Regions from separate parts of the Homo sapiens genome. Here all the other regions are linked to region 4. The links are contacts of gene promoters, found by promoter capture Hi-C in blood cells and fetal thymus (Javierre and others, 2016). All regions are on one chromosome and are shown on one strand. The core of a region is centred on a gene start or on the middle of the fragment in contact, and the rest is flanking DNA. Distances in the headings are between cores, read along the strand shown. Region 1 holds the start of LOC124904075. Region 2 overlaps RPTOR (regulatory associated protein of MTOR complex 1). Region 3 overlaps RPTOR (regulatory associated protein of MTOR complex 1). Region 4 holds the start of NPTX1 (neuronal pentraxin 1). Region 5 overlaps RPTOR (regulatory associated protein of MTOR complex 1). Region 6 overlaps RPTOR (regulatory associated protein of MTOR complex 1).

Region 1 (3,874 bases), core at 68-2,567, 410 kb before region 4:
GGGCTGCACAGCTCAGGGAGACTCAGACGTGAGCGGAGGCTCTGCGGGATAGCACTGGACAAACAACAACCGCTTGTGGCTCTGTGCATATTAAATTACAAAAGACAACAGGGGAGAGGCTGGTGGCTGCGGCCTGTCCGAGTGCACACGAGGTGCATGGTGACGTGGGCCGTGAGCCGTGCTCCCCGGGAAGCCGCAGCAGAGCAATGACCGTCCACACTCAGTCTGGCTCACCCTTCTCCCCTCCTGGGCTTCCTAGAAGCAGTGAGGCCTCACTGCTGATGACAAGCCCCTGCACGGCAGAGACGGCTGTGTGGAAGCGGGAGGGGCTGCCGGCAGCGATGAGATAGGAACTGTACTCTCCAGTCAAAACGACACGTGTGAGAAAGCACGCCTGACATGACTCACCGAGCCACGGAGCCAAGAGCAGTGTGATGAAATTACTCATCGCAGGAAGACGGCCCCTGCGCTTTTCCGCAAGCTCCTACTGCAGAAGTTTTGTCATACTTCAAGGTCTCTGTGAGTTTAATTTCCAAAAAGGGTAAAAAGAAAGGAAAAATGTAAGAGGGTCAGTGTGGCCCTCTTTCCTGCCCTTTTAAATCTGGCAGGTGCCTAAAAAGATGAGAAAAACAGGGACCCCTTGCGGCAGGTATCTGAGAAACCTGCGCTTAGACTCTGCGAGGGTGAGCAAGACTGGGCCGCGGCCTGCACTAGAACCGCCAGGCGAGGTGCTCTGCGGGTTCACAGGAGAAGACGCCATACCTGTGGTTGCTGGAGAAGGCAAGGCGTAGTTCTTTTCCTCTTCTATGAACTGCAGGGCCACGGTGCAGAAATTGCTTTCATACTGAACCACAAGATGACTCAGAGCCACCACCAGCTCCTGCCGAGAGGGAGAAGGGACAATAACAGTCACTGGGGCTGGAAAATGATTGTGGAGCAGCAGTGAGACTTGAGTCACCAACAGAAAAAAGAAAGGTTAAGACAAAACCGTGCAATTGGCATCAGAAACAGGGACCATCCCTTTTCGAACCGTCAGAGCAGAGGCCTTGGAATAGCAGAGTGCTGGGAGACGGCAGGCCACTGGCTCACGGGGGAAGCCCAGAATGCCTGCCAGAATCCTCCCCACTGCTAGAGGCGCACGACGCATCGGGGGTCTCGTAAGGACACGGTGAGTCACAGGACTCCAGAGAGGGAAAGGTAGGAGGCCTCACAGCCTCTCGCTTACGGTGACCACTGGGACCCTGGCTGAAAACGCCGCTCTAGATCACACCCGATGGCTGGCGGCCTTTCTGAATCTGAGCGCCCCAGGGCCGAGTGCAGCGGACAAGCCGAAGCCTGCTCTTTTCAACACATGTGAAACTTTCATTGGTAGATGTTTCTAGTCCCTAAGAGGGAACGGGAAAAGTTGTAGAACTAAAACATCATCTTTAGGACCAAATGCCTTGGTCCAAGGGAACAGACACAATTTGCCTCTCTTTTAGGACAGTTCAGTGCTGTGACAGGAACAGCTGGAGATCCTAGAAGTCACTGGGGAACAGAAGGGGGATGTAGGTTTAAAAAGCGGAAAGAACGTTTTTTTCCCTACGACAACTTTTTCTGCCTTTTTTTTTTCTGAAAAGAAAAAATACGGATTCTTAGCAGAAAGCCAAGCGCTGTGAGAGGACCCCTTGCTAGTCGCGTGACGCCCCTGTCTCCACAGCGGCTGGATGAGCAGGCTCTGGATGGGCGCCCACCAGGGACCAGGGTCTTCTCGTGGCCACCCCACTCTCCGTCTACGCACTCTCTGTACACGCACTTTCCCACCCCAGCCTTACATGCCCCGGGCTTCCTCCTATCATGCTTTGTGGTTTCCCTGATGCCGGCCCCTCACTCTCCTAGGTCCAGGCTGGCTGTCCAGCTGCCGGCTCTTCACCTGCACCCCAAACTCTCCCTGCCCTATGAACTGCGGGCACCGTCTACTTTCCCTTCAGCCTGCAGCGCCCTCTTGATTTGCGCCGATGGAACTGCAAGTCTCTCACTGCTCAGAATGGAGCCCTGGCATCACCCTCCACCCGCCCCTCCCACCCTGCTGGGCACCAAGGGCCATGGCCCAGTGTGCGTCTTCACGGCCATGGCCCACGCCCCGGTTCTGGCGCTCGTCTCCAACTGCCTAAGTCACTGTCCCAGGCTCCCCTGGCAAACCACAGAACCCCCGCTGCCTTCCCTGTGCAAGAGGAGTGAGGCACTGCCGAGACGGGGCCTCCGACAAAGCGAACACCCACTGGGCCCCTTCCAGGGAAGATCAAGGCTGCACCTGTCTTCAGAAAGCACCGATTTTTTTCCCTTTCCTTCTGACATCAGGTGAGAAAAGCCAGAGCTGGGAGCTGGCATGGATTAACGTGCACCGAGGTGGTGGGCCCTTCGATTCAGGGGAGGCCAACAGGGGCCACGTCTGTTATTCAAGGGGAATGTCCAGAGAGCACTCACTCCCGAACACACATCCTGCTGCGCACGGGGCCTCCCTCGGGGGCCGCACATCCCTCACTCCTGAACACACATCCTGCTGCATACAGGGGCCTCCCTCACTCCCGAACACACATCCTGCTGCGTACGGGGGCCTCCCTCGGAGGCCGCACATCCTGCTGTGTACGGGGGCCTCCCTCGGAGGCCGCACATCCTGCTGCGTACGGGGGCCTCCCTCGGAGGCCGCACATCCTGCTGCGTACGGGGGCCTCCCTCGGAGGCCGCACATCCTGCTGCATACGGGGGCCTCCCTCGGAGGCCGCACATCCTGCTGCGTACGGGGGCCTCCCTTGGAGGCCGCACATCCTGCTGGAGATGGCGGGCCTCGCTCTGGAGGCTGCTGCCTGGCACACAGCAAAGAGCTCTCCTTTGCGTTGGACCCTTCCTGCCCTTCCTGAATGGAGCTGGGCTCTGACAGCAACACACACACGCACTGGCCTTCTTTAGGATATTCATGCAGAACCCATCAGAGGGTCTGGCAGAGGTGCTCAGCCAGGGGTGTGGGAGCTCCCCTCTCTCTCAGCTTTTGCAAGATGAGCTTGGCTGGTGTTGTCATGTGACCCCTTCCCCCTGAGGGCTCCCCAGCAGCACACAGACGGGGAGGCCACATTAGTGGCCACGGGCTCCACACTGGCCAGGCTTCCCAGGTCCTCTGACCGGTCGCTTGTCAAAGCCATTGTCTGTCCTCCTGCTCCCTGGCTGGGGCTGAGCAGCCTTCCTCGAAAGGGAGGCAGCTTTGCCTGGACTCATACTTTCACCTGTCAGCTCAGCCCTTCCTGTCGGCTCCCCACCTTCAGAGTCCATGCGTGATCCTGGAACCTGCTCCTTCATGGCTGGCCCCTTCAACGAGGGGCAACTCTGCTCTTCTGTTGCTCAGACCCAAACCCCCAGGATTCCCTGTCCTCTTCTTTTCTCGTACCCTCTCCACCTGTGAGCAAGTGCTGTGAGCTCCGCATTCAAAGTGCTGGTGCCTCTTCCCTCCTGCGCCGTCCCTGCAGCTGGGCGAGCGGCCCCTCTCACCTGGGCAGCCGAAGGTGAGGTCCTGCCCCCAAACCCCTCCAGGCCTCTGATCACGAACGACAAGGCTTGTGCCTGGCTGGGCCACCTGCCCCACTGCCCTCCTGGCCTCTTGTGCCCACGCCCTCTGATGGGCACAGCCCCTGCACTGGGCCTCTCCCTGTGGCAAGGCCTCCCTGTGCCCCCAGCCCCATCCATACTGGCTCTGCTCAGCTGCCACCCCGGCCCACCACTCTCACACCCAGCCCCTCCCCCAGCTCCAGGGGTAACTTTCTTGAGAGAAGAGGCAGGGTTAGTGCCCTGCGGGGTCACTGAGGCCCCAGCCGGCCCGGCACGTGGCACGTGCCTGACAAGT
Region 2 (4,158 bases), core at 539-3,038, 480 kb before region 4:
GGACAGGGTCAAGGTACCATTCGCTGAGTGCCATCCTTCTGTCGTAGACGCGGATGGAGCCGTCACCGAGGCCAGCCACGATGAGTGAGCGGTGGGAATCACAGGACAGACTCGTCACACAGCTGTCTGCGCCCGTAGGGATGTCCTAGAGCCAAACACAGGCAGCCCGGTGAAGACCGGGGCACCGAGCCACCCTCCCTGCTGTCCTGCAGCGCCAGGACCCCTCTTGCTGCCTGCCTGGCTGTGGGGATCACCCTCCCTGGCTGCAGGGGCCTTTCTCTCTATCCAGGGAAGCATCAAAGGCCTGGGGAGCCCAGGAGTCCCAGGGAGAGGCAGGGGCTGGCAGGACAATGAGTCACGCCCTTATCCCTTGGCCCTGGAGGGACAGCCCTGAGGCCCTGAGGCGCCTGGGACCCAGCCAGTGAGGCAGAGGCCAGCCCCACCCCGAGCGGAGGCCTGCAAACGCCTCTGGGAAGGACTGGCTGTCAGTGCCAATTAAACTTCCAACCTCTCTCTGTTTCCTAAAAAGGAAAGCAAAGCACATTTTGGCAAGGACTCCTCACTGGCTGCGTCTCAGAACTTCTAATGAGCTATGGGACGAGTCCAGGAGGGGTCATCTGGCTCCCTCGGGGGCTCTAAGTGCTGGAGAAGCGGGGGCGGGGGCGATGGCACCTGCCAGGGACGCAGGAGGAAAAGGGCCACGAGAGGGAGAGCGCTTTCCACGCACGATGGGCGGTGCTGGGTTGTGCACTCCAGGAGGAAACACAGGCGTGGGGATGATGGGGCCAGACCCCTGCGAGGGGCAGAGCCGGCTCTGGGAGCACCTGCTGCGCTCTGTGCCTCCACCCACCTCTGCAGGAACAGCACCTGCCCCGCAGGCCACCTGGGCCTCTAAGCCCCCACTGGTGACCAGACCCTGAGGATCAGGGTGTCCACGCTGTGCCCTGAGGGCTACGTCTCGTGTGGAGCCACAGCTCCAGACAGGTGCAAGACCCCCCCACCCCAAAGAAGGTGCCATGAAAGCTGCTGGTGCCTCGAGGGATCCACGGTCACGTCAGAGGGGAGGCTGCCCACACGGGAAGGCCTGGGCCAGGTTCTCGGGCTGCTGCTGCCCAGAGCAACCACAGCAGCTTCGAGCAGCTGAGGGTGCCCAGGCCTCCCCTCTGCTGGGCCTGCTCCACACCGCCCTCTACGGCAGCAGGGCTGAGCCATCCCTCCTGACACCAGATGGCCTGCCCGGGAGAGAGGCTGGGTATGGCCTCTGTGCCACACCTCTCCCTGGGGACCCAGAGGAAGGGAATACTGGCTCTAAAGCCACCTCAGGCGCTGCCCCTCACAGTATCTGTGGTCTCGCCTCTGCTCCAAATGAAGTCAATGCAGTTAGATTTCTGCTGAGCGCGGCCTGCTTAGGTCTCTACCACTTTTCCAGGCTGTCTTGGGCAAAACCAATGTACTCCGCTTTTTGTCAAAACTGAAAATAGCAGATGCTTTAAGAAGCAAAGAGGCTTCTGGCCGGGCGCAGTGGCTCACGCCTGTAATCCCAGCACTTTGGGAGGCTGAGGTGGGCGGATCACGAGGTCAGGAGATAGAGACCATTCTGGCTAACACGTGAAACGCCGTCTCCACTAAAAATACAAAAAAAAAATTAGCTGGGCGTGGTGGTGGGCGCTTGTAGTCCCAGCTACTCGGGAGGCTGAGGCAGAAGAATGGCATGAACCCAGGAGGCGGAGCTTGCAGTGAGCCGAGATCGCGCCACTGCACTCCAGCCTGGGCGACAAGGCAAGACTCTGTCTCAAAAAAAAAAAAAAAAAAAAAAAGAAACAAAAATCTTCTGTCTTCTGTAGCGGCTCACACCTATAATCCCAGTGCTTTGGGAGGCCAAGGCAGGAAGATTGCCGGAGCCAGGAATTCGAGACCAGCTTGGGCAAATACTGAGACCCCTGTTTCTACAAAAAGTTAAAAAAATTAGCCAGGCGTGTGGGTGCATGCCTGTAGTCCCAGCTACTTGGTGGTGGGGGGGGGGGGTGAGGTGGGAGGATCACTTGGACCAGGAGGTTGAGGCTGCAGTGAGCTGTGATTGCACGACTGCACTCCAGCCTGGGTGACGCAGGGTGACAGAGTGAGACCCCATCTCAAAAGAAAAAAAAAAACGCCTCCAAATAATTAATCATTCTAATTTACAATTGGTCACCCTACTGATTTCTGACATTCCTTAATTTGCAGAGAGAAGACACTACTTGCAAACACTCAGAGCTGGCGCAGCCTGAGCCATACTGCAGCGCAGGGCTGGGTGTTGCAGTTCACCTTCATCCAGAGGCCTCAGGGAGCCCACGTCTCCTCCCAGCATTGTCCCGGCACTGTCCTCCCAGGCCCTGACTCCACCCCTGGGATGGCCAGGCCTCACCGCACACTTTGCTGGGTTCTGTGACGAGGACCAGCCCTGCACACACTGCCCCACAGGCCCAGGGCTTGGGGGACACCTGCATGGTTACCTGCACCTTCATCTCACGGTCTGTGTCCCAGATCCGGACGATCCGCACGTCTCCTGAGCTCATGAGGAGGCCGGTCTCCTGCTCCCAGTCCACCACCATCCCAGCTCCTGGAGAGATACAGTGGGACATGGCATCACCCCATGGGCCCTTGCCTTGGGCAGGCTTTGGGGCCTGCTCTGGGCAGCAATTTGGCCAGCAGCTACAAGGTACCCCTGCCACCATCGAGCCCATCTGGTGGGTCCATATGCCTCATATGAGCTCCCGCTAGGGACCCTGGTGTGCCCCACGTCCAGGCTGGGGTGACAATTCTGAGCTGGAACTCCCAAGTCCGGGCCGGGATGACAATTCTGAGCTGGAACTCCCAAGTCCAGGCTGGGGTGACAGTTCTAAGCTGGAACTCCCAAGTCCAGGCCGGGGTGACAATTCTAAGCTGGAACTCCCAAGTCCAGGCCGGGGTGACAGTTCTAAGCTGGAACTCCCAAGTCCAGGCCGGGGTGACAATTCTAAGCTGGAACTCCCAAGTCCAGGCCGGGGTGACAGTTCTAAGCTGGAACTCCCAAGTCCAGGCCGGGGTGACAATTCTAAGCTGGAACTCCCAAGTCCAGGCCGGGGTGACAGTTCTAAGCTGGAACTCCCAAGTCCAGGCCGGGGTGACAATTCTGAGCTGGAACTCCCAAGTCCAGGCTGGGGCGACAATTCTGAGCTGGAACTCTGAGTCTTCCCCTGACTCGACTATGCCCCAGGCATCGCTAGAGGGAGCAGAGCCTTCCAGGAACATCTGTCTAAGGTGTCCACTGTTCGGAGCAGAGCCTTCCAGGAACGTCTGTCTAAGGTGCCCACTGTTCGGAGCAGAGCCTTCCAGGAACATCGGAGCAGAGCCTTCCAGGAACATCTGTCTAAGGTGTCCACTGTCCAGAGCAGTGCCTTCCAGGAACATCTAAGATGCCCAACATCCGGAGCAGTGCCTTCCCGGAACGTCTGTTAGGTGCCCACCGTTCAGAGCAGTGCCTTCCAGCAACGTCTGTCTAAGGTGCTCACCATCTGGAGCAGACCCTTGCAGCGACGTCTAAGATGCCTGCCGTCTGGACGCCTGGGCAGAACTGGCAGGTCTGGGTGACTTTAGGAAGGCTGTTAAGGCTTGAAGATGAGGGTCCTCCTTTTGGCCCTATCAAAGCTTGAGGAAGCCGGTTCTTCTGAGACAAACAGGAGCTCGGCATGGGCCACGGGCCGGCAGCCTTCAGACAGCAAGGGGCTGACTCCCGACGGCTGGCGTCAGCAAGGGATGGACGGAGAGAATGGGGCAAGGGCTGCCCTTTGTGTGGGGATTAGACAGAGCAGAGCAACCCCCACCTCACGTGACGGCCTGTATTTAAAACCAGATTCAGTTCTAAAACTGTAATGATAACCATTTTAAGATACAGAAAGGAACACCATAGTAATCCTTGTACCCACCACTCAGCTCTAACTTTGCTAACATTTTACCATTGTTTGCTCTTTTTTTTTTTTTTCATAGAGAAGCATAATTTTAGACACAGTAAAAGCATCGTCTGCCCCTGCGCCTGCCTGGGAGGGCTGTCCCTTGGGCTGAGGGCGCCTCCCAGGGGCTGCTGAGGTTTTCCTGCTTACGCACGCTCATCAACAACGTAACATGCCTTCCACATTTCAA
Region 3 (3,803 bases), core at 529-3,028, 450 kb before region 4:
CGGTGTCCTTGGATGCTCATCCTGCTAATCGCTAGTTGCATGTCAGTGTAAACTGGTCATTATTTTGTGACCTGGTAACTGTTTTAGTTTCTTATATACCTTGAAGCAGTTTCGGGTTTGCAGTTCTTCTGTTCTTTTTTAGGTTCAATCCTAGCCTTAGAGCTATTTTTAGTTTACATGTGAAGCAGGCTAATAACAAGAAGTTCCTAATGCAGCTCGTTACACAAATGTCATTAGATGATGAATTAAATCAGTAAAAGAATACCTTTATGAATACCACCTAGAAAAAGTAGGAAAACAATTTTTTTTTTAAACAAGAGAAAACACGTCCTGCTTCCTCTTCTGAAGTTTGGAAAAGGTCTCTAATGTTAAAGACACTCCTAAGACTGCAGTTGCTATCAGGAGTTACAGACGACGCCGACCACAACACGGCGCTCTTTTCCATCATGACACCCAGAGCCTGTTGTTTCAACGACAACCAAGTGAGCATTTGTTTTCAAATACTTGGCAGGGGCAGAGGAAGACAATCATTTACTCATTCAGCAACCGTTTCCTGATCAACCTCCTGTGTGATGGCAGCTCCTACATGGATCCCCTTGGACTAATCTCCTCTGCAGTGTCCACACAGCAGGACCTGCTGGCAGGGCCAGACCACAAGGCTGACACCCTCCAGCTCCTCCGTGCGGGCGGGAATTCTCAGATGTGCAAATGGAGGAGATGAGGGCAGGCGGAGGAGGGGCTGCTAATCTGAAGAAAGGGAGAGGAGACGCTGGCTTGGGGCTTGCACACACCGGAACAAATAGACACACACACACAGACACACAGAAACACACAGACACACACACGAGATACACATACACACATACAGAGATACACACACACATCACACAGACAGACACAGGGATACACACACACACATAGAGACAGACAGACAGACAGACAGACAGACACACACACGGCCTTCCACATGCCTCTGGGGAACTTCCTCCTGCAATCAGCTGCTGTGTACTTAAAAATGCTTAGGAAAGGAAAGCAAATCCTTTGGGGAAAAGTCAAATTCATTTTTAAGTTTAAGAGCAATGAGTTTTGGATTATCTATGCCATTCCTCTTTCATCATAGGATAGATGACTGAGAATAGGCATTTTTCAAGGACTTCAAGAAAAGCCTCTCGTTATCACACCAAGAAATTACCAACATGTACAGCCACTGCCATCCCAGCAAGAGCGAAGACCAGACCATGTGGGTTTCTTAGTCGCCTGACCTTGTCTGCCTTAAGCACGAGACCGCATCAAGGACACCAAGCTTGTTAACATTAGACTAAATTCCATTGACTTTTCAACAGACTGGGCCGCAGTTCTAGAGGACGGCCTGGCACCCCTGGCACAGTGTCCAGCCACCTCCCAGCTCTGGCTCACTCAGAGTTTGGGTGGCTCCTGCTTCCTGCATCCAATTCCAGGATTTGTGTATGCTTTCCTTTCCTAACCAGAAGCCTCCTAGTGATGGGAAGGGGCACTTCCCTCTGTCTGCAGGGGCCGCCACCCTCATGCCACCCGCAGGTAAGCAGCGGTGAGCCCAGCAGGTGGGCCTGGTGAGGGGCTTCTGACTAGGACTGAATCCACCAGCCTCAATGATCTCCTGGGGTTTGTTTCTTTGATTCTTTTCCCCCGACTCTAAAGGTGCTTCGTGCTTAGTGTAGAAACTGCAGAAGAGGCACAAAAGAAGCCCAATTCAGTGCAGTCGTGGGTGGCGCCATTTGCGAATCTCTAGTTAGGAGCGGGCTCTGCTGGTCTCCGTCGTATGCACATCTGTGTCTGTATGAGAAGCACGGCTGTGATTGTTCTGTAAATCTGGCTTCTTGGTCTGCATTTTGCATTTTTTCTTTTTAAGGAATGTTGTCATGAGCGCTTCCTTAGGACACTATTTTTAATGTTTAACTTTTCAGTAGCTCCAATAATATCTCATCAAATATTTCATAACTTTTTAACTATTCACCCTCTGTGGACATTTAAGTGAATCTCAATTTTCGTTCTTAGAAACAACACGGAAGTCATCTACATCTCTGATTATTTTCTCAAGACAGTATTTTAGCAGATTCATGACTGGGTCAAAGGGAACGGCTATTTAAGGCGTTTGATGCTTCCCGGCAAGACGCTTTCTAGAACAGCCAGGCCACTGTCCACCCAGGTTCATGTGAGAAGAGGGAGGCGAACTCCTCTCTCTTTGCAGTAAAGGGGCTCCGTAGTTCAAGCTTCATGGCTTGCCTGCCTCAGGGGCTGCCTGATGGTTCTGTTTTTATGAACAGAAATCAGCATTCACTATGAAGACAGGACCACAGGGACTGAGCTGTCATGGGGTCCAAATACCATTCACAGAGATGACTAAGACGCAAGCTTGATATACAATCGAGAATAAGCTGAGAGTTTCAGCTTTCAATTATATATGAGGGAAGAGGCAGGTTTGCTCAGAATGCACTTTAGATTTATAGAAAATCTCCACGAGTCCCTGCTGGGCCCTGGCAGAGAGATGAGCACTGGGACTGTGCTGACAAAGCAGCTCCCGCCCCATTCCTCGAAGAGGCCGAGAGCCGCCGCCCTGCCCCAGCCTGCAGGAACACAGCCACTGCGTCCACAGCACACGGCGCTTGTTAGGGCTGTGTCAGGGTTGAGCCTCAGAGATGGTCTTGTGGTGTAACCCCAAATGCGCTAGGATTGGCTGCAGCAGGCTGCGTCTAACAGTCCCCAGACCTCGGAGCCACGCAAGCGTGGCCTTGGGATGGGCCTCGAGTGATCCTCACCATTAGGGAGTGGGAAGGCCTGTGGTGACCCTGTCAGTTAAGGCAAAGTGACACCTGTCACACTGGGAAGCTCCAGCGAGGCAGGTTTTCTCTTTTCGTTTGGCGACAGGAAGGTAAGTGAAGTTTGTTTCTTCTGCGGTTCTACCTCAACCGTGACCATCACTACCACGACCACAATGGGACGCTCCCACAGCCACAAGCCTTGAGCGTTTATGCTCAAAGAAGTGGGACAGACACATGTTCGCTAGGACTCTACTCTGAACCCCACACCCCGGGCGCACCTTCATGACGGGCTGGGCAAAATAGCGGGCGCTCCAGTCGCAGAACCCCGTCTGCACCGTGGCGGAGATGAAACTTTTGTGTCCAGCAGCATCGTCCGCGTCGTCCGCAGTCTTCAGGGTTTAAGCAGGAGGGTTGGAAGGAAAAAGAAACACCAGTCAGTCATGCCACTCCTGAGCTCAAAAGAGCTGCAGCTGGGGACAAAGGCGCTGCCGGGAGCACCGGGCTGCCCCTAAGGACGGCACTTCTGTGCTCTGCTCACTTCCGTATCCTGGTGACCAAGAACCCCTGAACGTCTGGCCAGGGATTGAGGGGCCCGGGCTGTGAAGTGTGAGCCACGTCGGTCCCACCATCCCCAGGGCCGACCCAGCACAGCTCCCAAGTCAATTCTAACTGACTGTTCAGACAATGCCACGTGCGTCCATGTGTGCTGGTTTATCAACCCCCAAAAAGCCTCTGCCGCTTGGTTCCAGGACAGCTCCTGTGATGGCCCCGTGACACCAGACTGAGAGCGGGGACTCCCATGTGAAGTGGCCTGGACGGAGCGCACAGCTTTGCAGGCCGGCTGGAGCTCCCAGCTACTGGAGAAAGAGGATGTGGAGCTGAGGAGGACTGAGCTTTGGGTGTTTCCTGTTGTGGAACCTGTGGCGGCCAGGGCTGTCAGAGTCTGTGTGTGCTTGTGGAGTGAGGCTGGGCACCAGGGGTCTCCTGTGCCACGCCATGTGGCCT
Region 4 (3,830 bases), core at 636-3,135:
CCAGGAGGGCACCCGCCTAGCGGCTCCCTACGGGAGTTGGGGCAGAAGACGCCGCGACCCCGCGCGGGTAATTTCTCCCGAGGCGCGTTCCAGCCCGTGGCGCTGCCGGCGCAGACCCCGCGTGGGGACCGGCGAGGCTAACCCCTCCTGCGGCCCGGGGTCGGCAGAGCACGCAAGGGGCCGCGGGCCGCGTGGGTTTGGGCGCGCCGTGGTGGGCAAGCGGGGCCAGCGGAGCGGGAACCCGCACACCCTCCGAGCGGAGCCGAGGACAGGCCCGTGCGGGCCGCGGGGTCCCTCTGGCGCCAGGAAGCGGCGGCCGAAGGAGACAACGAGAACGCAGCCCCGGCTCAGGGAGGCTTAAAAGCTGAGATGCTGAACGCAGACGGCGGGCGCTCGGGGGCTGGGGGGCGGGTAGAGGCCGCCATTTCTCAAAAAGGTCTCCATCGAGCCGGCCTCTGCTCCCGCCCGAGGGGCGGACGCCCGATCCCGGCACCCGGGACTGCCCGTGGGTCCCTGCTGGCTGGGGACCCCCAGCCCCCGGCTGCGCGCAGGGAAAGGCTGCAGAACGCAGAGACCAGAGAAGCCGGGGGCGGCGGGGAGGGGTCGGGGGGCCACGGCTGTAGCCCGGCCCCGCAGTCTCGGAGCCTCAGTTTCCTTCTCTGTACCACGGGAGCGTGGACGGAGGGATTTCCGAGGCTTTGACCGCTCTGATAGCCCCGGGGCGGGGCGGGGCGGGGCGGCTGCGCCAGCCCTGGTCCTGAGCCCCCAGCCCGGCGCCGGAACCCGGACCGCGATCTCGGGAGCCGAGCCCCGCGGTCCAGATGAAGGCGCGAGTGCGCGGGTGCCGGGTGGGGTGTCTGAGCGAGAGCGGAGCTTCTCAGGTGGACGCCCCCAGCCACCTCCGGGACCCTTCCTGCTGGCCTTTGGGCCTGAGAAGTGGGCGCGGCTGGACAGACGGGAAACAGCCCCCCACGCACAGGTGGACACCCGGGGATACCGGGCGCGCGCGGCGCCTGGCAAGGGGAAGCTGCTGGAGACGCGGGCGGCTGCTCCCGCGGGGCCCCCTTCCGAAGCGCCGCTGCGAACGTCCAGCCCCGGCGACGCCGCCTGCCCGCGATCGGGCCGGCGCCGCGGACAGGAAAGGCTCGATCAGCTAGGTCTGCCTCCGAGAAGTCCCCAGCGCCCCGCCCGCACGGGGTGGGGACTGACAGTCCCCCGGGGACGGGGCCGGGTCCACAGAGCCCGGGAGCTGGGGGAGGGGAGGCGCCGGGGGCCCCGACCCGTGGGAAGTCCCTGTACCCAGGCTGCCCGGCGGCTTCTCAATAGCACACGGACATCTAAGAAACGCGGGGCGGCCCGGTGACCCCCGCTCTGGACTTAGTGGCGCCGCGAGGCCCCACTCCGAGCCGTTGACCACCGGGCACTCGGGTGTTGACGACCTGGGTCCTTGGGCACCCAGCCCGGCTCCAAACGACCCCGGCCCAAGGGTGTTCAGTGCAGCCAGGAGGGCCGAACCGAATTCTATCTCCCGGACGCGGTGGTTTCCCGCCCGCCTGGAGCCCCGTCGGAGGTTCGGGGACACCACGCAGGTGGTCCATCCTCGAGTCCGGGGCCGGAGCCCGACTTCCTTCCCCCTGAGCTCTCGGAGCCTTCGGGGCAGCAGCGCCGGCCCAGGCGGGGGCGGGGGAGGAGGGGGCCGCGGCAGCTCCCAGAAGGGCGGGGGGGACGCGAGCGGAGGCAGCCCCGGTGGCGCGCTCGTGAGACCCCCGCCGCGCCGCGGGCCCGGGCCGCGGACAATTAAAGCGGGATTCCTCCCCCGCTGACGTCGGCGGCTCGAGGCCCCTCCCGCGGCGGCATAAAAGGCGCGGGCTCCGCAGCGCAGGCGGCAGTGGGGGCCTGATAGCGCGGCGGTGTGGACCGCGCGGCCGAAGAGCGCGGCGCCCAGAGCGCGGGCCGCTCGCGGAGCCACAGCCCGAGCCGGGTCCCAGCCGGAGCCGAGCCCCAGCCGAGCCGAGCCGGGCCCGGAGCGCCCGGTGCCCGCAGCCATGCCGGCCGGCCGCGCCGCGCGCACCTGTGCGCTGCTCGCCCTCTGCCTCCTGGGCGCCGGGGCCCAGGATTTCGGGCCGACGCGCTTCATCTGCACCTCGGTGCCCGTGGACGCCGACATGTGCGCCGCGTCCGTGGCCGCCGGCGGCGCCGAGGAGCTCCGGAGCAGCGTGCTGCAGCTCCGCGAGACGGTGCTGCAGCAGAAGGAGACCATCCTGAGCCAGAAGGAGACCATCCGCGAGCTGACCGCCAAGCTGGGCCGCTGCGAGAGCCAGAGCACGCTGGACCCCGGAGCCGGCGAGGCCCGGGCGGGCGGCGGCCGCAAGCAGCCCGGCTCGGGCAAGAACACCATGGGCGACCTGTCCCGGACACCGGCCGCCGAGACGCTCAGCCAACTCGGGCAAACTTTGCAATCGCTCAAAACCCGCCTGGAGAACCTCGAGGTCCGCGCGCGCCCTCGGCTCCGGTTCCCCCTCCGGCTCGCTCGCCCCTCTGCCCTCCCCCACCCCGTTCCCTACCCGGCCAGGCATCCCCCGCCCTCGCCTCAGCCGCGCGGGTGCCCGGCCGGTGCCTCCCCGCGCCTGCGAGGCCCCGCGGCGGCCACTCGCCCCAGCTCCCTGCCAGGCCGCCCCCGCAGTCGCCCAGAGGGGACCGCGCCGCGGGCCTTCCAGCACGGTCCCCGCGCCTCGCCTAACGGTGTGGTTTCCCCCGCCCTTGCACCCCGCAGCAGTACAGCCGCCTCAATTCCTCCAGCCAGACCAACAGCCTCAAGGATCTGCTGCAGAGCAAGATCGATGAGCTGGAGAGGCAGGTGCTGTCCCGGGTGAACACCCTGGAGGAGGGCAAGGGGGGCCCCAGGAACGACACCGAGGAGAGGGTCAAGATCGAGACCGCCCTGACCTCCCTGCACCAGCGGATCAGCGAGCTCGAGAAAGGTACTGGGGCCAGGGGGAGCCGTGCTGCCTGCCTGCACCTGCTTGCCCGACCCTGCCTCGGTCCCGATCCCTAACAGCCCAGCTCTGCACTGTGCAAGCCTCAAGCCGCTCCGCTACCCCCAACCCCTGCACCGCTTTCTCATTCCCCGCACCCCTTCCCAGGTTCTGGGCTTCTAGTCGGTGTTTCTATCAGGGCTGGGTGCCTTGGGCTGGGGCTGTCTCTGGGAAAGGGGATTGCATAGTGCCCCCTCCCCCATCCAGACACACTCACACACTCGCTGGATTTTTCAAGTCTGATTTGTTTAATCCTCAGTAACTTTGCACAGTGGCTGTCGCTGGCTCAAACCCTCCCTGCTTAAGAAAGCCTGTCTCTCCCTGGTCCCCAGCCTCAGCGTACAGCTGGGTGCAGGCTGGGGCTGGGCGCTCTCGTTCCCCGGGCCGCTGAGGCTGTTAAGCAGGTTTCTTCCCGGCTGCCATGCCCCCGGTGTCCTCTCAGGATCTCCAGCTCCTCCCCACTTCTGTCCTGAACCCCTACCCTGAGGTTTTCTTTTCTGAGTGACCCAAGTCCTGGCATCTTTCAAATCCCTGAGGTTTCTCAGTCACCAACTCAGGCCAGCCAGTCTATCACCCAGGGCGCCTGGATGAGCGCTGGAGGCTCTGTCTTGAAGTCGCAGAAATCAAACAAGGTTGTAAAAGGGGAGGGGGGGGGGTGCCCGGTGCGGAGCAAGGCCACGTGACCCTGCTCAGACCGCAAAATGTGCCGGACAGATTTAAACAGTGCCATCTTAAGGCTTGTTATGTAACTGAAAAACAGATCAGAAGGAAGGACCTCAGGAGGGAGGGAGAGGG
Region 5 (3,833 bases), core at 1,134-3,633, 430 kb before region 4:
GGGAAAACGATCAAACCTCCTAAATAGCGCTGGCCTCCAACTGTGCAGTCAGGACAGAGCAAGGGTGGTCCATGGCCACAGCCATCCTGTGCCTCCAAGAGAAAAGAAGAGGCCACCAGACACTCCTGTGTGTCAGAGAACTGCCAGCAGAGACGCGAACTGGCCATCAATTCTAAAAACTTAAACCATTTATTAATGTTCGTAAAAAGCTTTTACAACTATTTTAGTGAAAACGGCTATTTAAAACCCAACCTTGAAATCTTAAACTAAAAGTGGTAGAGGCTATTTAGAGTCTAAAAGGGCAGTGGTAAGTGGTAAGAACTGATTTTCCCTAATCCGTAGCAGGCAGATGTGACGGTTTCAGTCCCAATCCTCCAGAGCGTCAGCTCATCTGAGAGGCCTCGGGACCGGTTGCTCTGGTCTGGGGCCTCCGTGGGTGGTTTCCTCAGGGGTGTTTGTGCAGTCTTATGACTTTCTTTTCTTCCTTATTTCCTTCCTGTCTGCTTTACTGCCTCCCCTTCTTGGTCTCAGACCATAATGTGTAACAAACATATATTTTTAAACATTATTTTAAAAGACACGGTCTCACTCTGCCGCCCAGGATGAAGTGCAGTGGCACAATCATAGCTCACTGCAGCCTTGAGCTCCTGGGCTCAAGGGATCTTCCAGCCTCATCCTCCTGGGTAGCTGCGACCACAAGTGCTTGCCACCGTGCCCGGCTAACTTGCTACTATTTTGTAGAGACGGGGTTTCACTATGTTTCCCAGGCTGGTCTCAAAACACCTGGGCTCAAGTGATCGTCTCTCGCCTTGGCCTCCCAAAGTGCTGGGATTACAGGTGTGAGCCACCACACCCAGCCTGAGGTTTATTTTTGTATTTATCTTATTCCTAGTTTAAAAGCAAATAATTATATTATTTCTTAGTTTTCTTACCGCATAATGAAAACATTAACTTAATTGACTGGCTATTTTCAACAGGCCAGTAGCACATAAAAGAAACCTGAGGAGATGGCCTGCTGCCTGGGGATGAACGTCTCCAGGTGCCCGTGCAGCTGGCCACACCACACGGTGACGAAGGAGGTGGCAGAATCCGCTGCAGGGATGCGGTGACGAAGGAAGTGGCAGAGTCCGCTGCAGGAGGGGAGGCCGGTGCAGAATTAAACAATCTGGACCTTTCCAAGTTGGCCAATAGGCTACTTGTGACTATACCGGTGATACCATAAAGAACAGGCCAGGCGCAGTGGCTCACGCCTGTAATCCCAGCACTTTGGGAGGCCGAGGCAGGCGGATCACGAGGTCAAGAGACCGAGACCATCCTGGCCAACACGGTGAAACCCCTCGTCTCTCCTAAAAATACAAAAATTAGCCGGGTGTGGTGGCTCACGCCTGTAGTCCCAGCTACTTGGGAGGCTGAGGCAGCAGAACTGCTTGAACCTGGGAGGCGGAGGCTGCAGTGAGCTGAGATTGTGCCACTGCACTCCAGCCTGGCAACAGAGCAAGAGAAAAAAAAAAAAAAAGAACTGAAGAAGAACCAACTGCAGACGGTAAGGTGATTTCCATCTAAGATATAACTAGACCAACAGAAAATAACTTAGTTGAAGGAACCGAAAGCCACAGAAGTATAATATCAGCAAAAGGAGCTGAGGAGCTGCAGGAACCCTGGCTCGATGGCCGGCCAGGACCCAGAAGGCCACAGCAAATGAGAGGGGGAGACTCGATAGCTCATTTGGAAAAAGCGATGGACTAGGATGGGAAGCCGTGGCTCCTCGACCCTGCAGACCCTGGCACTGAGTGATACCCGAGGCAACGCCATAGCCGTGACGAGGTCAGATGAAGACGTAGAACACCACAGAGGCTGCAAGAGTGTGGCCTTTCCCTGCATTCTTCCTGCAACATTTCTGTAAGCTTTTGAAGTTTTATCAAAAAGTTACCAAAAAATTTTTAAGTGCTATAATGAGTGACTTCTAATTCCACATAAATCATCCAACTTCCATAAGCAACTAGAAAACCAGGACAAATACCGTAAACAATTGTTTTTGGACACTGGGTGCTGGGTGTCACGGGCTTGTGATCCCTGAGAGAACGGAAATAAACAGCTGCCCTGTGTCCGGCTTGCAGGTAGTTTCAGGCAGTCCCAGGCCACAGTGCAGAGACGGGGAGCCCAGCACTTTCAGGGAACAGGAGACAGAGACTGGGGCTCCAGGGAGGCTGAGGTGGTGACAATTTGCAGGACAGAGCACTGGAGAGGGGAAAGCTTCCAAGGTCTGCAGGAGAGGCCCCTGGGGTCTTTGACTAAGTATTCATCTGCTCAAGGGTAGAGTGACAACCCATGAGGCAGAGAAAAAACAGCGGGAAGGCGGTAGGCCAAATGCCCAGAGCTCACAAAAGGGACTGAGAAGAGTTTACAGTCCCCAAAGAGAAAGGACTAAAATCAATGACCTCTGCTTCTACCTTAAGAAACTAGGATGAGAAGAGCAAATTAAACTCAAAGTAAGCAGAAGAAAGCAAGCTTTATTGATGAAAGCTCAATCAATCAAATGGAAAATGGACAAACAACAGAGAAAAACCAATGAAACCAAAAACTGATTCTTTGAAAAGTTCCCTTGAGCTAGAATGGCCATGAATAAGAAACCATTAACTAGAAGGGTTTTGAATGAGTCAAAAATTACTGCTATCAGAAAGGGAAGAAAAGTCTGGGTGTGGTGGCTCATGCCTGTAATCCCAGCACTTCAGGAGGCCAAGGCAGGAGGATCACTTGAACTGAGGAGTTAGAGACCAGCTTGGGCGACACACTGAGACTCTGTCTCTACAAAAAATTTAAAAATTAGCCGGGTGTGGTGGTGTGCACCTGTAGTCCCAGCTACTTCCAAGGCTGAGGTGGGAGGATTGCTTGAGCCCAGGAGTTGGAGGCTACAGTGAGCCGTGATCAGGTCACTGCATTCTAGTCTGGACAGAGTGAGACTGTCTTACAAAAACAAAAAACAGGTGCAGTGGCTCACGCTTGTAATCCCAGCACTTTGGGAGGCTGAGGCAGGAGGATCCCTTGAGCCCAGGAGTTCAAGACCAGCCTGGGCAACACAGGGAGACCCCATCTCTTATAAATAATTAAGTAAAGAAAGAAAAAAAAAATGGAAGAAGGGCCAGCACTGTAGCTCACCCAGACACCAGAGGATCCTGAAAGATAATGTCAGTCCTCCCCTAATTGCCTTGACAGGCATCAGTAAATCCAGCACCCTCTGCCCACGTGGGAGCTGCACAGACACAGTTTGGGGTGTACTGTGTACATCTCCAGATTTAAGATATTTGCTGAAGCTCGTTTTGTTACTTTCTAAACTGTGGTGTGGACCCGGGCACACCTGGAGTTCCTGGCATGCATACTCGTAACCGAGAACCAGCAGCTGGAGCGCGGTGGGGAGCGCCCGGCACGTACCTTGTAGGCGATGCTGTTGAGTACTTTCATGGCCACGTCCGAGACCTCTGGATAGGGGTCAGCAGCCAGGTGCAGCAGGACTCTCCAAATCTGAGTGTAAACACTGTTAAAGGAAACTCCTGAGAGAGAGAAATGGAAGATGTTTTAGTGGAAAGTAGCTGCCAATGAGGCTCCTAAGGCGGCTGCATTTTCTGAAACCCTAACCCTGGTATCAGAAGTGTTGCTTTAAAGAGCCGAGGTTACAGGAAGCCCCCATTTTGTTATTCTGGCAACGGGTCCCGAGATTCAAGAATCCTAGCTGATCACTAGGCTTGATCACATGGATTCATCTACTGAGGCCAAATCTTTCTAAAAGGAAAACTGCGTTGGAAAGGGTGTAACTTTCCTTGAAATGCCTCAGCGGA
Region 6 (3,939 bases), core at 1-2,500, 390 kb before region 4:
TTGTCCCGCAATGGAATAATATTCTTTTAATTAAATTTTTTTTTCTTTTCTTACCATGCTTCATTTTTGTTAGTTTCTATTGCTATTTTCTTTCTTTCTTTGAGGCAGGGCCTCACTCTGTTCCCTAGGCTGGAGTGCCATGGCACAATCACGGCTCTTTGCAGCCTCGACCTCCCGGGCTCAAGCGATTCTCCCGCCTCAGCCTTCTGAATGGCTGGGACTACAGGCACGCGCCAACATGCATGGCTGAGTTTTGTATTTTTTCATGTGGAGTCGAGGTTTCACCATGTTGCTCAGGCTGGTATTGAAATCCTGGTTACTCAAGTGATCTGTCTGCCTCAGCCTCCAAAAGTGCTGAGATTACAGACGTGAGCCCCGTGCCTAACCGTGTACTGTTTTCTCCTGCAATGCTTAACTGGTTGTTAATCCCATCAAGTATATTTCTTCCCATCACATATTGCAGTTTTCATCTCTAGAAATTCAAGTTGGGTTCTTTTTATATTCTCCGTGTCTCAATTTAACTTTTTGAATATGTAGAGTAGACTTCTAACTTTTTAATGTCCTGGCCTGCTAATGATAACACCTGCAGCAGTTCTGAGCAGGTTTTAATGGGTTGATTTCCTTTTCTTCATTACGGGTCATATTTTCCTGATTCTATCTGCCTGGTAATTTCTGGCTGGTAGTGTGAAGTGGAGTGTAACCTGGCATGGGGAGTGATGCTGGGGGAGGCCCTCTGGGATCAGAGTCCTGGGAGAATCCTGGACAGACGGCTTTCTTCATGTGCCCCCCTTGGTGCTCCTTGTCCTGTGCGGTACCATCTGTGTCAGATCAGTGTCACCACTGTGCCCTGCTCTGTCTCATGTAAACGGCACACACTTCTCCCCGGTGGCACATGGTGTTCTTCCGTCTTTTCTTCCGCCCGAGCCCACCTTCTTTAAGGCCTCCCCATGAATCCCTCAGAGCTTCTGGCACAATGGGACACACGGTGTGCCCCAAAGGTGCTTGGGAAATGAGGGGAGGTCCCAGGCTCGCCCTTCCGCTGGGCCCAGCCTGAGTGGGCTCCGATCCTTCTCAAACTCTTAAGTGTGTCCTGAGGGCCGGCTGGCGGCAGCAGGGGGATGCTGAGAACACTGGGGGAGTGGCTGGCTTCTGTCTGCACCTCTGAACCTCTGAGCAGGCTCTGCGATCTTCACAGGTGGACCCGTCTGTACACCATGTGCACCCCGATCTGCACAATGGCAAGCCCCAGGAGTCACAGGGACGGCTGAGGGCTGCAGGAGGCACTCATCATGTGGGGGCGGAGCCCCGGAGGACCACCAGCAACACGAGGAGGGGGCGGAGCAGACATCATGGTGGGCGGAGCCCCGGAGGACCACCAGCAACACGAGGAGGGGGCGGAGCAGACATCATGGTGGGCGGAGCTCCAGAGGACCACCAGCAACACGAGGGGGCGGAGCAGACATCATGGTGGGCGGAGCTTCGGAGGACCATCACCAACACAGAGGGGCATGCACACATTGTAGGGGGTGCACACATCATGGGGGGGTAGGGGTGGAGATCCGGAGGACCGCCAGCAACATCCATGGCCAGACGTGGGGAGGGGAAGGGAGTAGAGGAATGACCCCTCAAAAACACAGGGAACTTTCATCTCTGGGAAGTTATCGCCAGGGTAACGATGGAAGGAAGGGCGAGGCAGGTGAGGTAGACGAGGCTCAGTTTCTACCGGAAACACTTCAAAATGCCCCTCAGTGGAATGATTGCTTTTAAACATGCAGGTGCAACAAGCTGGTTAAGAAATTAATTCACAGGAAGGCCTGTGATGCCTGCAGGCAGTTACAAGAACACTGCAGGCAAGGGCATGCCCAGCTGGCTGTGGGAACAGCTCCCCAAGCAGTACTGAGCAGATGACCCCTTCAGCAGCATGAATAATAAACCCGAGGCCCTGGTATCTGCCTGGAGCAGGGTGTAAAACGAAGGCACGCTGCAGCCTCCGTGCTCATGGCCACGTTCTGCCATTTGGGGCACTCGAGAGCAACAGGCCCTGGGAGATCCACGGGACCAAGAGCCAGTTTTAAACAAGACGCCCTGCACTGCAATACCATGATGGGCTGTGGATGCAGTGAGAATGTCACGAGGAAGGTACGAGGAAGGCTGTCCCCTTTCACCAAGAGCCACCCCTGAGACTAAAAATAAAGACATCATCAATTTCCAGGTCCTAAAAGGTACTAAAAACACGAAGTCTGAGAATCAAAGTTGGCTTAGACACGTTCCTGCAGCACTGGCGGTGCTGGGGAGCAGGCTCAGGCGGCCGTAATCCCAGACCTCTGCATGCAGATGGCATCTCTTCCTCCCTTCACCCTGGGCTTTGTGTCATGTGAGGGTCACCGTTTTGTGCATCCCAGAGCCCCTACACATGGTCCTTCATCCGTGGCCAGGTGCCAAGATATTTCTAAGTGTGTCCATGTAGATGACGAAGATATGGGTGTAGGACAGAAACCACGTTTCAAAATGACTTCCTGCCAAACACCCTTTGTTTACATAATGTGGCTCTTCAGTGAATTTGAAGAAGAGTAAAATAGAAATGACCCACACCTCTCGCGTCCTGATCCACAAAGCCAAGCTTTCTGTTTAGCAAGAAAAGGTTTTAGTGTAACAGGGACAGGCAGGAGAGATGTGAGATTTACGTGGTGCCCCTTCCTGGTCCTGTTCCTGTTCCTCTATAATTTACACAGCAGTTTTCCACGTCCTGGTTCTGAGCTCTGGAACTGTGGCTGAAGGCAGACGGCCGAAGGCTCATGATTTTACAGAGGCAAATCATGGCCAAGGGAAGTGAAAATGACTTGTAAGAGCAAATGCGGTGATGGGATCAAACTCAGGGTTTTAACCTTAAATCCAGTGCTTTAGCCAATCTTTCAAAGCAGTCATTCTTTATCTGTAGTTTAATGGGTAGCAGGGAAAATATTTTGCTGAAATATATGGTATTCAGGTCACCATTATGGAGCGTTCTCTGGTCACAGCCAGGTGCAGAGCACTGGGCCCAGGAGGGTTCAAGGTTGAACTGAGGTCAAGGTCAACCTCAGCTGTGCTGAGAGGAAGAGCAGCAGCTCCCCGCATCCAGCTCAGGAAATCAGGAGCAGCTGGGAGAGATGGCAAGCACGGTAGCCGACCCGTGCCAGCAGAGCCATGGTCAGTGCCCCAGGCCCAGAAAAAGAGTGAGAGATCCCAGAACCGGAAGAGGGGCTGGAAGCTGCTTCTGCTTGGAGAGAGCATATACATAAAATCCTAGGGAATCTACAAGAACCAGTGAACTAGCAGAAAATCCCAGGGAATCTACAAGAATCAGCGGAACCAGCGAGAGGTCAACTGGTGCTGGGTACGACTGACGCCTGCCTCCAAGGTGGAAGCCCTCACCGTCCGCTTCGGCAGCAGCCTCCCCACTGCCCCCTGACTTCAGCTGTGACACCAAAGTAGTACGTGAGGACTTGGGGTGTGGGGAGGCTATGGTCAGGGCTGGGTGCAGGGAGCAGAAGGGCTGAGCAGGGGCCCAGGGGTCCGTGGGCAGCACAGTTGGGGACCTGATGGCCTGGGCTGGACTTGAATCAGCAGCGGCTGTGGGTGGGAGACACAGCAGTGGCTTTGTGTGGGGTGTGCAGGGCTGACGGGTGAGAGCGCACAGTGCGGGGTACGAGCCTGTGGCTCGGGGTGCCTGCCAGTGCCTGGACAACAGGGTCAGTGAATTTGGCTGAACAAAGCCCAACAGGGCAGCTTCAGCGAGCACAGCAGGTCCTGGTGGCCAGTGCGACATGGCTGACAGGGCTAAGGATGAGGCTGGGTCTCAGTGCCAGTGACTGGACGGAGGAGCTGACAGAATGTGGCCTGGGGAGCGCCGGGCAGCAGGCAGGAGCCCCGGGGGCTTAAGCTCCGTCCACTCTCCCCTCA

Evidence for each region. The method cuts DNA at HindIII sites, captures the fragments that hold promoters and counts their contacts. A CHiCAGO score of 5 or more calls a contact.
Region 1: a fragment that was not itself captured here is called in contact with the fragment with the promoter of NPTX1 in region 4 in 8 of 17 cell types (naive CD8 T cells, endothelial precursors, non-activated CD4 T cells and 5 more); the score reaches 9.5 in naive CD8 T cells.
Region 2: a contact is called between a fragment that was not itself captured here and the fragment with the promoter of NPTX1 in region 4, in 12 of 17 cell types (endothelial precursors, activated CD4 T cells, naive CD8 T cells and 9 more). The highest score is 12.9, in endothelial precursors.
Region 3: a fragment that was not itself captured here is called in contact with the fragment with the promoter of NPTX1 in region 4 in 10 of 17 cell types (endothelial precursors, activated CD4 T cells, naive CD4 T cells and 7 more); the score reaches 11.6 in endothelial precursors.
Region 5: a fragment that was not itself captured here is called in contact with the fragment with the promoter of NPTX1 in region 4 in 12 of 17 cell types (activated CD4 T cells, naive CD4 T cells, total CD4 T cells and 9 more); the score reaches 17.9 in activated CD4 T cells.
Region 6: a contact is called between a fragment that was not itself captured here and the fragment with the promoter of NPTX1 in region 4, in 1 of 17 cell types (endothelial precursors). The highest score is 6.9, in endothelial precursors.

Annotation. Positions count from the first base shown.
Region 1 is chr17:80,888,726-80,892,599 of GRCh38, reverse strand. RPTOR (regulatory associated protein of MTOR complex 1) reads right to left here. Exons shown (of 34, transcript NM_020761.3): 18 at 763-880. It overlaps LOC124904075, which reads left to right and starts at 429. Exons shown (of 2, transcript XM_047437253.1): 1 at 429-2,340. The coding sequence starts at 1,856. The HindIII fragment of the contact is 9,458 bases long and covers 1-3,874 here.
Region 2 is chr17:80,956,065-80,960,222 of GRCh38, reverse strand. It overlaps RPTOR (regulatory associated protein of MTOR complex 1), which reads right to left. Exons shown (of 34, transcript NM_020761.3): 29 at 2,493-2,599; 30 at 18-145. Among named protein-coding and RNA genes, the nearest start is that of CHMP6, 34 kb to the left of the region's middle. RefSeq lists an enhancer at 319-836. The HindIII fragment of the contact is 3,760 bases long and covers 1-3,668 here.
Region 3 is chr17:80,924,754-80,928,556 of GRCh38, reverse strand. RPTOR (regulatory associated protein of MTOR complex 1) reads right to left here. Exons shown (of 34, transcript NM_020761.3): 24 at 3,077-3,187. Among named protein-coding and RNA genes, the nearest start is that of CHMP6, 65 kb to the left of the region's middle. The HindIII fragment of the contact is 946 bases long and covers 1,306-2,251 here.
Region 4 is chr17:80,474,662-80,478,491 of GRCh38, reverse strand. NPTX1 (neuronal pentraxin 1) reads left to right here and starts at 1,885. Exons shown (of 5, transcript NM_002522.4): 1 at 1,885-2,489; 2 at 2,774-2,981. The coding sequence starts at 2,046. RefSeq lists an enhancer at 2,898-3,431. The HindIII fragment of the contact is 19,396 bases long and covers 1-3,830 here.
Region 5 is chr17:80,908,526-80,912,358 of GRCh38, reverse strand. RPTOR (regulatory associated protein of MTOR complex 1) reads right to left here. Exons shown (of 34, transcript NM_020761.3): 21 at 3,430-3,548. Among named protein-coding and RNA genes, the nearest start is that of CHMP6, 81 kb to the left of the region's middle. RefSeq lists enhancers at 610-659, 1,428-1,617, 1,738-1,967. The HindIII fragment of the contact is 255 bases long and covers 2,256-2,510 here.
Region 6 is chr17:80,860,082-80,864,020 of GRCh38, reverse strand. All of the region lies in intron 13 of RPTOR (regulatory associated protein of MTOR complex 1), which reads right to left. Among named protein-coding and RNA genes, the nearest start is that of CHMP6, 130 kb to the left of the region's middle. The HindIII fragment of the contact is 2,745 bases long and covers 1-2,622 here.